Regions from separate parts of the Homo sapiens genome. Here all the other regions are linked to region 1. Evidence: promoter capture Hi-C in 16 types of primary human blood cells and fetal thymus (Javierre and others, 2016). All regions are on one chromosome and are shown on one strand. Each heading gives the region's core, a stretch centred on a gene start or on the middle of the fragment in contact. The rest is flanking DNA. Distances are from core to core; before and after follow the strand shown.

The links. The method cuts DNA at HindIII sites, captures the fragments that hold promoters and counts their contacts. A CHiCAGO score of 5 or more calls a contact.
Region 2: a fragment that was not itself captured here is called in contact with the fragment with the promoter of HSPA4L in region 1 in 1 of 17 cell types (erythroblasts); the score reaches 5.0 in erythroblasts.
Region 3: a fragment that was not itself captured here is called in contact with the fragment with the promoter of HSPA4L in region 1 in 1 of 17 cell types (erythroblasts); the score reaches 6.3 in erythroblasts.

Annotation. Positions count from the first base shown.
Region 1 is chr4:127,779,349-127,784,195 of GRCh38, reverse strand. It overlaps HSPA4L (heat shock protein family A (Hsp70) member 4 like), which reads right to left and starts at 1,874. Exons shown (of 19, transcript NM_014278.4): 1 at 1,539-1,874. The coding sequence starts at 1,645. RefSeq lists enhancers at 1,124-1,203, 812-1,804, 1,704-1,853 and silencers at 1,994-2,063, 2,344-2,513. The HindIII fragment of the contact is 4,318 bases long and covers 1,348-4,847 here.
Region 2 is chr4:127,971,970-127,976,816 of GRCh38, reverse strand. All of the region lies in intron 1 of ABHD18 (abhydrolase domain containing 18), which reads right to left. Among named protein-coding and RNA genes, the nearest start is that of ABHD18, 9.0 kb to the right of the region's middle. The HindIII fragment of the contact is 1,504 bases long and covers 1,188-2,691 here.
Region 3 is chr4:127,624,067-127,628,913 of GRCh38, reverse strand. No RefSeq gene overlaps it. Among named protein-coding and RNA genes, the nearest start is that of INTU, 6.5 kb to the left of the region's middle. The HindIII fragment of the contact is 3,167 bases long and covers 1,022-4,188 here.

The DNA of each region.
Region 1 (4,847 bases), core at 625-3,124:
CAAAGATTGCTCCCATTTTTAACCCCTACTCTGCTGAAGGTGGAGAGTGGAATTTCCGGTCTGTTTCTGGCGAAAGCCAGTATTTGTTGTGGCTTAATATAAAACCTTGTAGAGACGAATTCATCGACTTCACAGTTACTGTTTCGGCCTCTCACTGTGCATAAAAGCCAGAAAAAGATGTAAAAAGTAGAAGAGTTCAAACATTATTGAGGATTACCTTATCTATGCCCATGTATTGAAAATATAAACGTCCAAAACGTTTAAAATTTCAATAGAAGAAACGTGTACATCTACGAAAAAAGGTATAAAACCTTCTAGAATCTTCTTGGAAAGAAATCAAAGCACAGACTGCTTCAAGTGAGCTACTCTTCAACATCTTTTTGCCATATTTTAAAGCTTTCCATAGAATAGTAAATGAGGCATTTAAAGACCATTGGACACTGACCTTGTTTTAGTATAGTTAAGGTATTATATTTTGGACCATTCAGAACGGTCAAATTAAGATGCCAAATTACCTTTCCATAAAAAGTAATATAGGTTTCATACAGTTGGTTTCCTCATAAAATTACCAGTAACAGCAGCCTATAAGCAGCAACTAGTTTTTCATATTTCAGAATTACTTCATTATATTCCTTGCCAACAAACTTCCCAGGCCAGAGAAACAACGGAACATGTGGAAACATGTTTCCATGACATAACGCCGCTCCTCCTAAGCCTTTCATTAAGCGTTCATAATAGAATCACTCCACAGTCATGTTTATACGGGACAGCTGCCCCCGACTCCGGCAATTCACTCTGCAGAAACACGCTTTTGGTCCGACCCAACCCCGCCGCATTCCAGCAACTGACGTAGTTACCAATGCACAAGGCCAGTGACTCCCATCCCGAGGCTCTCCCTATCAATGCACCATTGACCTGGCCCTGTAAACCGGCTCCATTACCTGCAGTTCTCAAGGGCACTGGGTTTTGTAAAACCCCACATGCCTCACTCCCCGCCCTTAAAAAAAAAAAAAAGGCTTTCGGGGCCAGATGAACCTGCAATTCATCTCTGACGTGTGCAGCCGAAGCTGACTTTTTACTTTTCTGAGAAAAAGCTGTCACCCAGAGGGACGGGGAAAGGAAGGAGGGCAGCTGGCGCGGGGCCGATAATCCCACGTAAACCTCGTTAGAGGCAACCGGAGATCTTTCTCAATATTCCGGACGCCAGGGGCTGTCCCACAGCAACCTCTTCCTCGCAAGCAAAAGAGGCGTTGGGGGACAGCGGCACGAGGCAGGGGACGTGCGTAGGTACAGAAAAGAGAGCTGCGCAAACTAGTGCGGTCCCTCGTCCTTGAAGGAAAAGAAGCTTTGCGGGGCGAGGAAGTCCGACTGCCACCCGGCGGTCTCTAGGGACTGCGGTTGACGGGTTGCACCTGTCATCTCGGGGTTCGGCGCACGTTAGGGGAAAATCCGAGGAAGCGAGCAGACAGGACAAACGTTAAGGACGGGAGAGAAAAACGTTTCTTAGGGTCGAGGTGATGCTCAGCAGAGGCACTTACGGGGTACACCTGTCGCTGTACTCATTGGCGATGGTCTCGATGCCGCCACTTCTCGCGACAGCAATGTAGCAGTTGAGAAAGCCGAGGTCAATGCCAACCACAGACATCCCGCCGCGTGATGGTCGGGCTGCTGGTACTGAACCCTTCGGTACGGGAACCGTGTCCTCTTCTGGGCTATTGCTGCTGGGATTGCGACTCCTACCAGAAGCAAACGAGAGGGGACCCCAAGTCGCTAAGCAGAAAATCTAGGGCAGGGAGTCGGAAACCCGCGGAAGGAGCAGAGGCCGTCAGCGCCGCAGCCTGCACCGCGTCCCGCAGCCTGGGTCTTTCCCTACTGCGGTTCGGCCGCCTCCAACCGGCGGTTACTGGGACCTGCGCCTGCGCGCTCGGCTGCCCGGGAGGCGCGCGAGCCTCCGCTCCGCGCCCGAGCCAGCTCCGGGCCCGGACTTCGGCCGCTTCCGTCAGCACTCGGGCAACGGCTGCCCAAGAAGCTGCGGGTTCGAGAAAGATCTGGAAAATGGAGGCTGCTGAGCTATCCGGGGGCGGGAGAAGCGGGAAGGCGGGGCGGGGAGGATCGGGGAAAGGAGGCTAGGCACATTGGCTTGCTCGCCCTCGCTCGGCAGTAGGACGTCGGGCGGTCGGGCTAGGTGAGAGGCAGGCGACCGGCCGGCCCGGGGCTTTGCGAACGTGTTTTGAGGCACATTTTTGGGTTGTTTTGGCAACCGGAGGCGTGCTTGTCACGGCGGCAGGATGCTGTCCTGGCTGGCGGGCGCCGCCCCCTCACCCCCTGCCCTCAGAAGGGCTCGCCCGCAGGCCTCGCCTCCCCGAGGGGCCCATGTGCAGCCCGGCGCCCTCCCCTTGTGGCTGGAGGCCCGCCGCGCCCGGCTCTGTGAGGTGGCGCGCATTGTCCGACGTCCGCCGCTCCGCCCTGTCCAGCCCCGGGGGAGCTGCCGAGCCCGGGACAGACTCTTGTGCGAAAGCGGGATGAGCACATGTTAGGTTTTTTTCTTTTTTCATCAGCAGGATTTGAAATATCAAAAGTCAAACTTCTGTCAAGAAATAAGATCACACTGACAACTTTCCCTCCACGTACCTTTCCTCACACCTTTCTAAAAGATGCTGGCCCCGCCGCTGACCCTTGTCTCTGGAAACCAGTTTTACAGGAAAGTGACCTTAATTAAGTGTGCCACTCACACCAGCCAAGTCTGTGCTTTAGCCTCCAGCCGCTGCCCTGTGGTCCTCAAAAAAGAGCCCAGTGTGGTCCAGCGCCCTCCCTCTTGGTTTGATCGGCATGTGTTGCCTGTCTGTAATTAACCAAGTTTTATGTTACACTTAAGAAATTTGGCTGTCTTGTTGCTTTTCGTTCACTTTTACGTGTGTGCCCTGTTCCTTCTCTGCCAGTCCTTGGTCTGTTCCCTGTTCCTCCCCGTCCTCTTCATCTAGTCTCTGTTCCTTCTCATCCAATTCTTTGTGTGTTTTCCTGTTCCATTTTGGTATCCATCTTGAAAACAGGCGTGTTTTTTTGTTTGTTTGTTTTGTTTACTAGATTCTTTAGTATTCTGATTATCCCTAGTTGTCCACTTCTTTAAATAACTTAGATTTTTTACTATTAATAATGTTGCTACAGCAGCAGCAGCAGCAAGGGTGGCTATAGTTCCTGCTGCTGTTAGAATGAACGTGAAATCCATTTTCAAGGGCAATACTGAGGCAACTGGATTGTACAGTATTGCTTGGGCTCTGGTCTCTACATTGAAGAAATCAATCAGGCCTCTCTTCCCTTCATGAGCACTCAGGAGACGTGGAGCCCCTGGGTGAAGCTGCGCTCTGAGACACCGCAGAACTCGGCGTCCCAGCGGGCAGCTCGTGAGCAGAACAGGGATTGGGCGTTGCCCTGCGACTGAACCCTGGGCCCTGGTCCTGCTGGGCGCCTGTGACTTCCACCAGTTCTCCTCACACACCTCTTCTGACATCGGCCATCACTATCTAGATTTATTCCAGAATATCCTGAAATTCTCCTAGTACAATTAATTTATCTTAATTCCATTAGTTTATCCATGTTGTCTATACAACTTGAGGGTGTAAGAATGTTTTTTTTTTTTCCTATTAAAAATACCACTTAAAATATCAAAGTAAAAAGGAAGTTGAGGCCAGGAGCAAAGTGGTGTTATCATCACGTTCCTTACAATTACTGGCAGGACGTGAGAGTACCCAGTGGTTAAAACCATGACGGGCTTTGGGGTCACACAGATTTGGGTTGTAGTACCAGGCTTGCCTAACTTACTACCTGTATAACGTTTGGCAAGTTACTTAATGCTCCAAGCCACAGGTTCAGTCTGTTAAAATGAGGACAAATATGCCTACTGGGCTGTTTTTATGATTAAATAATGTAAGCACTGCATCAGTCCCTGGCACCAAACGGTCAATAAATGCTAGCTATGCTTAGCTGCTGAATGATCCTGATTCATGTACATTGGTCATGTATCCAGCAACCTTGCTGTATTCTAAATTCAAGTATTTGCAGAATTTCTTGGATTTTCTGTGTATAGAACAATATGGCCTGGGAAATAATGAATTTCTTCATTTCTATTTCTTCTGTTTCTTATTGTTTTGCCTGGATTATGTTGCTTAAGTGCTCCAGTAAAATTTTGAAAATAAACAGTAGTGGTAAGCATCCTTGTCTTGTCCCTAACATTAAATACCTTTGTGTTTATGATGTAAGAAAGTTAACAAAATTATCTTCTATTCCTACTTTGCTAAGAGATTTTTCTCATAAAATCCACTCACACGCCTGTAAGTGGATACTGAAACTTAACAAATGTTAACCATCATCTAATGACCTGTTTGTTGCCCTTTAATTTGTTAATACAATGAATAACGTTACTAGAGTTTTCTAACATCCTTGTATCCCTGGGATAAACCAGAAAGGCCATGATGGTTCTGATTGTTTTGGCTTGTGATTATTTTATGAAGGATCTTTACATCTATATTCATAAATGAAACTGGCCTTTTTCTTTCTTTACTCTTTTTATTGGCGTCAAGATTATCGCCTCATAGAGGAAGCCAAAGGGGTTTCCTCTTTTTTGTTCCCTTCTGATAGTTTTGGTAAGAAAAGCCTGTAAACCGGCTGGGCGGGGTGGCTCACGCTTGTAATCCCAGCACTTTGGGGGCCGAGGCGGGCGGATCACCTGAGGTCAGGAGTTTGAGACCAGCCTGACCAACATGGCGAAAACCCATCTCTGCTAAAAATACAAAATTAGCCGGGCGTGGTGGCACATGCCTGTAATTCCAGCTACACAGGAGGCTGAGGCA
Region 2 (4,847 bases), core at 690-3,189, 190 kb before region 1:
GCCCGCCTTGGTCTTCCAAAGTGCTGGGATTACGGACGTGAGCCACAGCGCCTGGCTAAAGGATATTTTAAAAACAACTTATACTAAGTATATCCAATGACTGGTAGGATACCTAGTAGAATTCCTCATGGAAAAACAATAAATAGATGATATAAACATAAAATTTTAGTTTCCATTTTAATATGTTTCCAAATAGTATCTGAAAAGAATGCTATAAAAAGACTAGAGGAGAGACCCTGCAAAGTTTTTCCACAAAAGGCTGAACAGTATATATGATAGGCCTTGTAGGACAAGAGGCAAAATTAAGGATATTATGTAGGTATTTCAGATAACATTTTTTTCATTTTTTTCATTTCAGAGTCACATTTTTTGCATTGAGGAAATTCAAAATGTCATAAAAATAACTGAGTATAATTTTTTGTAATGTATAATTAATGAGAAGAATAAACTTTTTTTTTCTTGGGCGTTTGCTTAATTGAGATTCAAAGTTAGTACCCCATAATGAAATTGGGTACAAATGTTCACCTGTAAAATCTATTCTTAACTTGAAAGACATAGAAAAACAGGCAGGTTGAACAATAGGCCATAGCTTCCTGACCCCTGGGTTAGAAAATCAAATAAATCATAGGTATGACACAAATATAACACTAATGTTATAAATGTAAAGATACAACTATAAATCACTAGATTAAAATTACAGGCCAGACGTGGTGGTTCATGCCTGTAATCCCAACACTTTAGGAGGCTGAGGCAGGCGGATCACTTGAGTTCAAGACCAGCCTGGCTAACATGGCAAAACCCCATCTCTACTAAAAATACAAAAATTAGCTGGGTGTGGCAGCACATGTCTGTAATCCCAGATACTCAGGAAGCTGAGAAAGGAAAATCACTTGAACCTGGGAGGCGGAGGTTGCAGTGAGCCGAGACTGTACCACTGCACTCTAGCCTGGGTGACAGAGCAAGATTCCATCTCAAAATAAAATAAATAAAATAAAATAAAGTAAAATAAATAAGTAAATTATCCCAACCCTATAAAATGGGCATAAATATAATGCAAATATTGATTTAAAAAAATTCTATATGCCATAAAGTAGACCTAAAATTAATATTCTATCTAAAGTAAACACTAGTTATCTAATCAGCCATGATTTGTTTTCCTCCATAAAATTTAGAATTTGGCAGAAGCTTCTTCACTTCCTAGGTTATAAATAAATACATAAAAGGTGGGAGCTTTTAGTGTCCATTGGCAGATGAATGGATAAGCAAAGTATGTACATACAAACAACCACAAACACACACACAATAGGAATATATTCAGTCATACAAAGGAAGGAACTTCTGGCACATGATACAACATGGATGAACTCAGAGGACATTACGCTAAGTGAAATTAGTCAGCCACAAAAAGACAAATATTGTATGATTCAATTTAAACAAGATACCTAGAGTAGTCAGATTCATAGAAGCAGAAAGTAGAAGGATGGTTGCCCAGTACTGGGGGGATGGGAAAAGGGGGAGGCTACTGTTTAATGGGTATAGAGTTTCAGTTTTGCAAGAAGAAAACTGGAGATGGATGGTGGTGATACAGTTGCGCAACAATATAAATATACTTACCTTTGAACTATAGAGTTAAAATTATTAAGATGGTAAATTTTGTTACTGTATTTTACCACAAGAAAAAAAACTGAGAAAACAAAATAGAATTTGGGGTTGAGTCTCCAAATAAAATTTTGAGGGGAAGTAAATTGATGCTTTCTTTTCCTTTTGACAACTTTGTCAGTAAGCAGTAGTTCACTATTTTTTTTTTTTTTTTTTTTTTGAGACACAGTTTTTGCTCTTGTTGCCTAGGCTGGAGTGCAATGGCGCGATCTCGGCTCACTGCAACCTCCACCTCCTGGGTTCAAGCAATTCTCCTGGCTCAGCCTCCCAAGTAGCTGGGATTACAGGCGACAACCACCACACCCAGCTGATTTTTGTTATTTTTAGTAGAGACGGGGTTTCACCGTGTTGGCCAGGCTGGTCTCGAACTCCTGACCTCAGGTGATCCACCCTCTACCCTCCTCAGCCTCCCAAAGTGCTGGGATTACAAGTGTGAGCCACTGCGCCCAGCCAGAAGTAGTTCACTATTTATCTCAGAACAGAACTTGCCAGATGCCATGGCTCACACCTGTAATCCTGCACTTTGGGAGGCTGACACGGGTGGATAGCTTGAGCCCAGGAGTTCAAGACCAGCCTGGGCAACATGGTGAAATTCCATTTCTACAATAAATACAAAAAATTAGCCAGATGTGGTGGTGCATGGCTGTGGTTCCAGCTACTTAGGAGGCTGAGGTGGGAGGATTGCTTGAACTGAGTAGGCAGAGGCTACAGTGAGCCAAGATCATGGCTACTGCACTCCAGGCCAGGGTGACACAGTGAGACCTTATCACACACAAAAATAATACAGTTGGGTGCAGTGGTCCATAGTGGTGTGCGCCTGTAGTCCCAGCTACTCAAAAGGCTGAGGTAGGAGGATAGCTTGAGCCCAGGAGAGTGAGGTGGCAGTGAGCTATGATAGTGCTATTGCTCTCCAGCGTGGGCGACAGAGTAAGACTCTGTCTCAAAAAAAAAAAAAAAAAAAAAAAAAAACAGAACTTAAGGTTAATATTCTCTTCAAAAAAGACCATTGCATAATTTAAATAGTTGGAAGCTTTTAATAACTAAGACCTTTAAAGAATATAATTTGAAGAACAAATCTCTTGCATCTAGTTTGTTTCCTCCATCTTCTTCCCTTTTCCTTGAGGATTATCTTCCAAGAACCCAGCCTAGTTGGGTTTTCTGCTTCAGAACCTCATCTGGCTTCAATCAAGGTGTCAGCTGGGCTTCATTTTCATCTGTAGGCTTGAAGAGACAAGAACTCACTTCCACGCTTACTCAGGTTGAAGGCAGAATTCATTTTTTTTGTGTGTGGCTGTGGGACTATGAGCTTCAATTTTTTTTTTTTTTTTTTTTTTTTTTTTGCTGTTCATCAGCCAGAGGCCAGCCTCTGCTCCTGGAGGCTATCCACAGCCCCCTGTCACATGGCTCTCTTCATAGGAAGTTCACAACATGGCAGCTATTTCTTCAAGGCCAGCAGGAAAATAAGTGTGAGCCACAGGAGCCATACCTTTGCCATATAACATAATGTCGTCATGGGAATAACAGCCAATCACCTTTGCCATATGCCTGGTTAGAAAGCAAATCATGGGTTCTGCCCAAACTCAAGGAAGGGGATCACACAAAAATATGAACATCAGAATTTGAGGATCTTGAGGGCCACCTTAGAAACTGTCTGCTACACTGAGAGAAACCAATTATACTTCTCAGCATTTGAGTAGAGTATCTGGGCTGACACCCTCAATAACAGGTGTTACTTACTTTCTTCACATTTTCCTACCAGTAAGGGGGAAAAAAAAACCCCCAAACTCCACAGACTTGAATAAACATTTGTTTATAAGCAAATTTTGAAAGTTTGTCTAAATCAGCAAGGCGTGGTGGCTTACATCTGTAATCCCAGTAGTTTGTGATGCTGAGGTGAGAGGACCGCTTGAGTCCAGCAGTTCAAAACCAGCCTGGGTAACATGGGGAAACTCTGCCTCTATGAAAAATACAAAACTTTCCCGGGAGTGGTGGTGTGTGCCTGTGTAGTCCCACCTACTCGGGAGGCTGAGGCGGGAGGATTGCTTGAGCCTAGGAGGCAGAGGATGCAGTGAGCCAGGATCACACCACCGCACTCCAGCCTGGGTGACAGAGTGAGACCCGGTCTAAGAAAAGAAAAGAAAGGAAACGAGTGGGGAGGGTAGGGGAGAGAAAAGATTGTCTAAATCATGTTTATATATTTTCATTCACTTAACACCTTTGTCAGAAACAACAACAAAAAAACCAAAACAAAGTAAAAACACTTGCCTCTTAGAATTTTTTTAATCATGAAACAAATGGTAAAAGGCAAACTAACTTCTGAAATGCGTCTTAATTATATATTTTCTACTTTAGTGCAATTACAATCATGTAAGTATATGTAGTATATAAATTGCTTGACTAGTGTTTTTCTTGTAGAGGGCATGTCACTCTGGAATAATAAAGAGTATATCTGGGCCAGGCACGGTGGCTCACGCCTGTAATCCCAGCACTTTGAGAAGCCAAGGCAGGTGGATCACTTGAAGTCAGGAGTTCAAAACCAGCCCGGCCAACATGGTGAAACCCTGTCTCTACTAAAAATACACAAAAATTAGCCAGAGCGAGACTCTGTCTCAAAAAAAAAAAAAAAAAAAAAAAAAAGAGTATATCTGGTCTTTGACCTCAGCTCCTGGCATGAAGTTTCTAAAACCCCTGGTATTTCTTAAGTGATGAGTGTCTGTTATGCTAAACAAGCAACTCCCTGTGGGCCCCCTGAAAGTTTCAGAATCAGGGCTGGCCACCAGAAAGGAACTTTGGGACCCTCTGACCTCCACAGAGGGGAAGGGAGCTGGAAAGTGAGTTCAATCACATGGCCAAAGATTCAATCAATCATGCCTATTAATGAAACTCCAGTAAAAATTATGGACACTAAACCTTGGTGGAGCTTTCTAGTTGATGAACACCTTGGTGCGTCAGGAAGGAGATGCTCCCTGAGTCCATAGGAAGAGGCCAGGTAGTTCCACATTCATTCCCATACCTTGCCTCATGTTTCTCTTCATTGGGCTGTTCCTGAGTTGTATCCTTTATAATAACCTATAATCATAAATTTAGCTGTTTCCTGAGTTCTGAGTCATTCTAGCAAATTATAGACCCACAGGGCTCTCAGGAGCTCCTAAATTTTTAGCCAAGTCGGTCAGAAGGATGAGAGGCCT
Region 3 (4,847 bases), core at 1,356-3,855, 160 kb after region 1:
TTGTTATACAGATTTTGAGGCCCTGCTCCACATCAACAGGATCAGAATCTCCAGGAGAGGGGCCTGGAAATCTCTATTTTAAACAAGTGCCCCCAGTGATTCAGCAAACTTGAGAAACTGCCCTAAACTTTCCCTCAGTTCTGTGCTTCATGCATACGGGCCCACTAGTCATTCCCTGAATAGGCCGGAACCCACTTCCACCTCCTGAATTTAAGCCTGGCAGACAGACCTCTCTCCCTGTTCTAGAATCCATCATCCACGTAACCTTGAGCAAATGACCTCCACAAGCTTCACTTTCCTTATCTGTAAATTCAGAAAATGGTACTTACTTCACAGGACTGTTTGGAATCTAATGAGTTAATGCATGTAAAGTACCTAGCACATAAAGCATCAATAAAACAGCTATTTTATCTCATTTACTCACACAGTTCTCTTACTGTGGAATGATACTTACCCAAAATTCATTTGTTGAAATACTACACCTTTCTTCAAGATCCAATTCAAACAGCACCTTTTCCCAAAAGCCCTCCTAGACACATCTCCTACCTCAGTAAGAATTCCTTTTTCTACTCTTTCCTCATAATCTATCCCATAAAATTAGGTTATAACTAATATCAGTCTGTCTTATATCTAAATTAAATAGGAATACATCTATCATTGCCACCAAATGACAATCTCCTGGAGAACCTGACTGGGTCTTTTTTTTTTTTTTCTCTTCAGTCTTTCACTTGTCACAAGGTTGAACTGGAGCAAAAAATGCCACATGAAAGTATACCTGCTAGGACGTTAGCTATATTCCTGAGTTACGTTAACTCCCTTGGCTAATTTACTTCCATGTGTTAGTTAAATGGATAAAAGTGAGCAACAACAAAATTTACCACCTCGCTTTATCTTTCATCAAAGAAGAAATAATAGCAATCATTTTTATCCTTATTTTAATTTTCAGGTTGTAGTATCAATTAGTCATATTTCTAAATTTACATATCATATTTCTACTAACCTTGCTAATATTTAATAAGCTTAGATATTTTTGAAAGGATGAAGAAAGGAAAGGAATAGGATGCCATTTTCAGGGCCTTTATAAGAATATTCTGTGTGTTTCATAATTAGCAATTGCAAGAAGATTTAAGAGATTTAGACTGGGGTATATTTTCATTTTCTCTTTTCCACTACAAAATGACCAGCCATCTTCTGAAGCCCAAATATGTTTAATTTAATGCATATGAGACTTGACATCCTTATTTCCATAGATTACCATCTTGATTAGGCGAACTACAATTCTGACATAAAATACACCAGAAAAGGACATAATTAAATATTTAGTATCGTTAGCAGGTTCAGGAGCTCTTTCTCTAGTAGTAATAGAAGCTGGCAATGAGAAGTAAATGAAAATAGGGCCACATGAGGTCATATTCATTAAAAATTTAAACTACAAGGTAAAAATTATGTAAGAGTTTTGTTAGAAACTAATATTGCCTTAATTGTGAACACAGAAATAATAATACTTTATGAACTATGTGGTAATAATGACAGCCATAATTATTTTTAAAATATGAATAAATAACTTGGTAGACCAACAAAATAGCATTTTAGAAAGTGAGACTTTATTATGTAGAAGATTTCAGATTTCAGAGTTTATATATCAAAATAACATTTCAGCAATCCTAAAGGTACAGAATTGCATTATGGTCTAAAATTCTCATTTCCCTCTATAAAAGTTGAATTACTTGTTAAAATGCATACAACTTACCTGCAATAAGACCATATATTCCACATTTGAATAGTAATGGAATACAGATGAGAATCCAGAAGCACAAGTGAGACTAAAATAGATGGCACAAAGCTCAAGCCCAAAACCCAATTCATTTACTCCTATTTCTTTTCATTTTAGATCTTCATTTACAAATTATAACAAGTTTGGCAAGCTGTTCTACCACTATAGATCAATAGCTGCCAATCAGAAGGAAAGAAGGCTCCCTTAAAACAGGAATACAACAACCCTGGAAATTGTTGATGGCTGACAATCTGCTGATGAAGAGGAAAGTAGAAAACAAAAGGCAGACATGAGAATTAACAAAAAACCATAGTTTATAAATAACTGCCAAATGACCTAAGTAGCACCTAAAACAAAAAAATTCACAGCATTGTTGAATCCTACAATAATTTGACATCGACTGTAAAAAACACTTGATAATCTGTAAGTGCCATGCATTCTCCAGTCAGGGGATCCAAGTTCTCATCCTGATTTTGGCACCAATAACCAAGTGGAAGTGGACAAAGTCAGTTTCCTCATCTGAAGGCAGCAATAATAATCTCTGCCTACTCTATAGGGTTGCTGAAAATCAAATGAGATAACCCTTGAAATCTAATGCCTTATACCTTAAGAAACAGAGCAGTGTGTACTTTATATTATATTTTCAAAAGCTGTTTTTTTTAATTATTCATTTTAGTTTTTATTTTTAGATCTTAAAAAGATATTACATACTCTTTTACTAACAGGAATATTACTTAATTGGGCATACCCCCTGAGAATTCTGGATAGTTGCGGTATTTTGAATTTGCATATTTTCACCTTTGGTAAGAGTATGAAATTTGGGTCGTCAAAAATTTTGAGAATCACCTCTAGTTCACTCTCTCCATTGGCTTAGGGGTCAAAAAACCAGCACTCCAGCCTGGACCAGCACCATTCATTAGCTATTAGGCCTTGGGCAAAGTCACCAGGCTGAATCTTCTCAGAATCTTTAGGAACTATCATTTTGTGTTTTGTTTTAGTTTTTTACTATAGAACAGTTGTTACCATAATCCCTTATATTTGACAGAACTTTAGTTTTATAAAGCACTTCCATATCATCAGAAATTCACACCAACACCTTGTGAGGTGGGTATTATCCCTTTATATTACAGAAAGAACAGGGGAAAATATAAATAAGTTAAAAGTCTTGCCAAGTCACACAACTACTGTGCAACAGAGGAATTAGGACTCCAAGGAAATGATTAATTTGCAATAGTATTGTGCATATGTTTTTTTAAAAAAATTTGCAAAATACTGAGTATTAATAGTATTGTTTGGTTATTTCTTATAATCAAGATGACAGAAAAATAACTTAAGTAACTGAGAAATACAATACTGATGCTTTTCCTTGACTCAGACAACTTATGTGTAACTTTTTTCAAAAAGCAGAATAGTTAAATTTATTTTGCTGAGCTATTGTTATTTTACAATTGACATTTTGAAGTTAGCACCTCATGCAGAGAAAAGTTTGCAGCTTTGCTTTAATTTTGGTTTGGCTGAAGTATCTTTTTCAAAAGCACAGCAATTTAATGCTTTACATTTTAAAAACCATATTTGCAATGGAAAATATACAAGTAATTTAAAAAAGGACACACTCACAAGACTTACCCTTTAAAGTAACACGTTAAAATAAAACAGTCTGTTATTTTCTCTTAATAACATGGCTACTAGTCTCTTTAATGCAATTGCCAAAATTTTGTATATAATTTACGATGGATGTTTTAAAGGAAAAACATAAAAGTTTTGTAACAGTAATACTTTTAAAATAGGCCATGCATTGATATACTTCATGAGAACTATGATAAGTACAAGTATGATTTAAGGGTTATCAAATCTCCCTAATTTCTATAATATTATGCCTAAACAAATCTGTATATATACAAGCAAAAGACATTTGATTAGATGTGAACTTGTGTGAAACACAGATGCATTAAATGAAAGAGAAACCTCTACAGATGTCTAAGTTTTTTAAGTGCGTGTTTGAAAACATTAAATAATAAATAACCACTAATAAGAGTAATGCATTGCAGTAGCAAAAAGATTTTCGTATAATGTTAAAAAGAAAGCACTGTTAGCCATGATACTGACAAACATATTTATAGTTCCAGATTCCATTGGTTCCTCCAGCATATGGGAGCAGTTATTTGTAATTCAGATAAAGTAGTTTTTCATTGTAATACTGAGCAGGTTATTCTAAAAATATTCCACTACTTCCGAAATAATCATCTCAGTCTTGATGACTATAGCTTAAACATATTCTTTTGCCTGGTTTATTCGGACAGGTTTGTGCCTTGGATCTGAAACCCTAAAGTGTTCATCAGTTTGAAATTTTTTGGCACTTGACATTTAAAACATGAGAAATATAAAGAAATTCTGTTGCAGCAAGGTCTTAAGCTTTTAAAATTAGCACCCCTCCCGGCTTTACAACAAAGTCATGCTGTGAATGAGTTTTTAGTTAATGCTTCTTGGGATTTATTCCTGGACTATAATTTTATCAAATGCAGGGGGAATTTTCTTTGGGAATTTAGCAGAATATCCTTTTCACAGCTCGTTTAATAATATTTTCTTTTATATGGCAGGGGCTCTTTGGGGGTTGGGGGAAACCAACTGCAGAAAATTGCAGGTTTCAGAAGACAGCTCTGAAATCGCAGACACCCAATTTCTCCCTTGCACACTTTCTTTTTTACTCACACTTCCAATAGAACAGGATTTCTACAGCTCATATGGTTTTGTACAAAGACTTAAAAGGGCCACTTGAAACGTTTACAGATGAGAGGGCTCACATAAACCTCCCCCTGACAGATATTTACGAAGCGCCACTTACTCTTTCTCGCCACAAACGTATTCAAGAGACACTTTAGATATATTTCTAAGAGTTCTTTTTCCCTACAACGTCTTATGAAGGCCAGGCCTTCCTAGAACTAAAGCAGCATTAACTGCTTGGTATTTCATCCATCCTCTCTTAAAATTGAAAGACAATTTGCTCTTCATGTGGACTATTTCTTTCTCTTCTATAAACCCATCACTGTAACCACAGGATTTAATATTTGTTAGT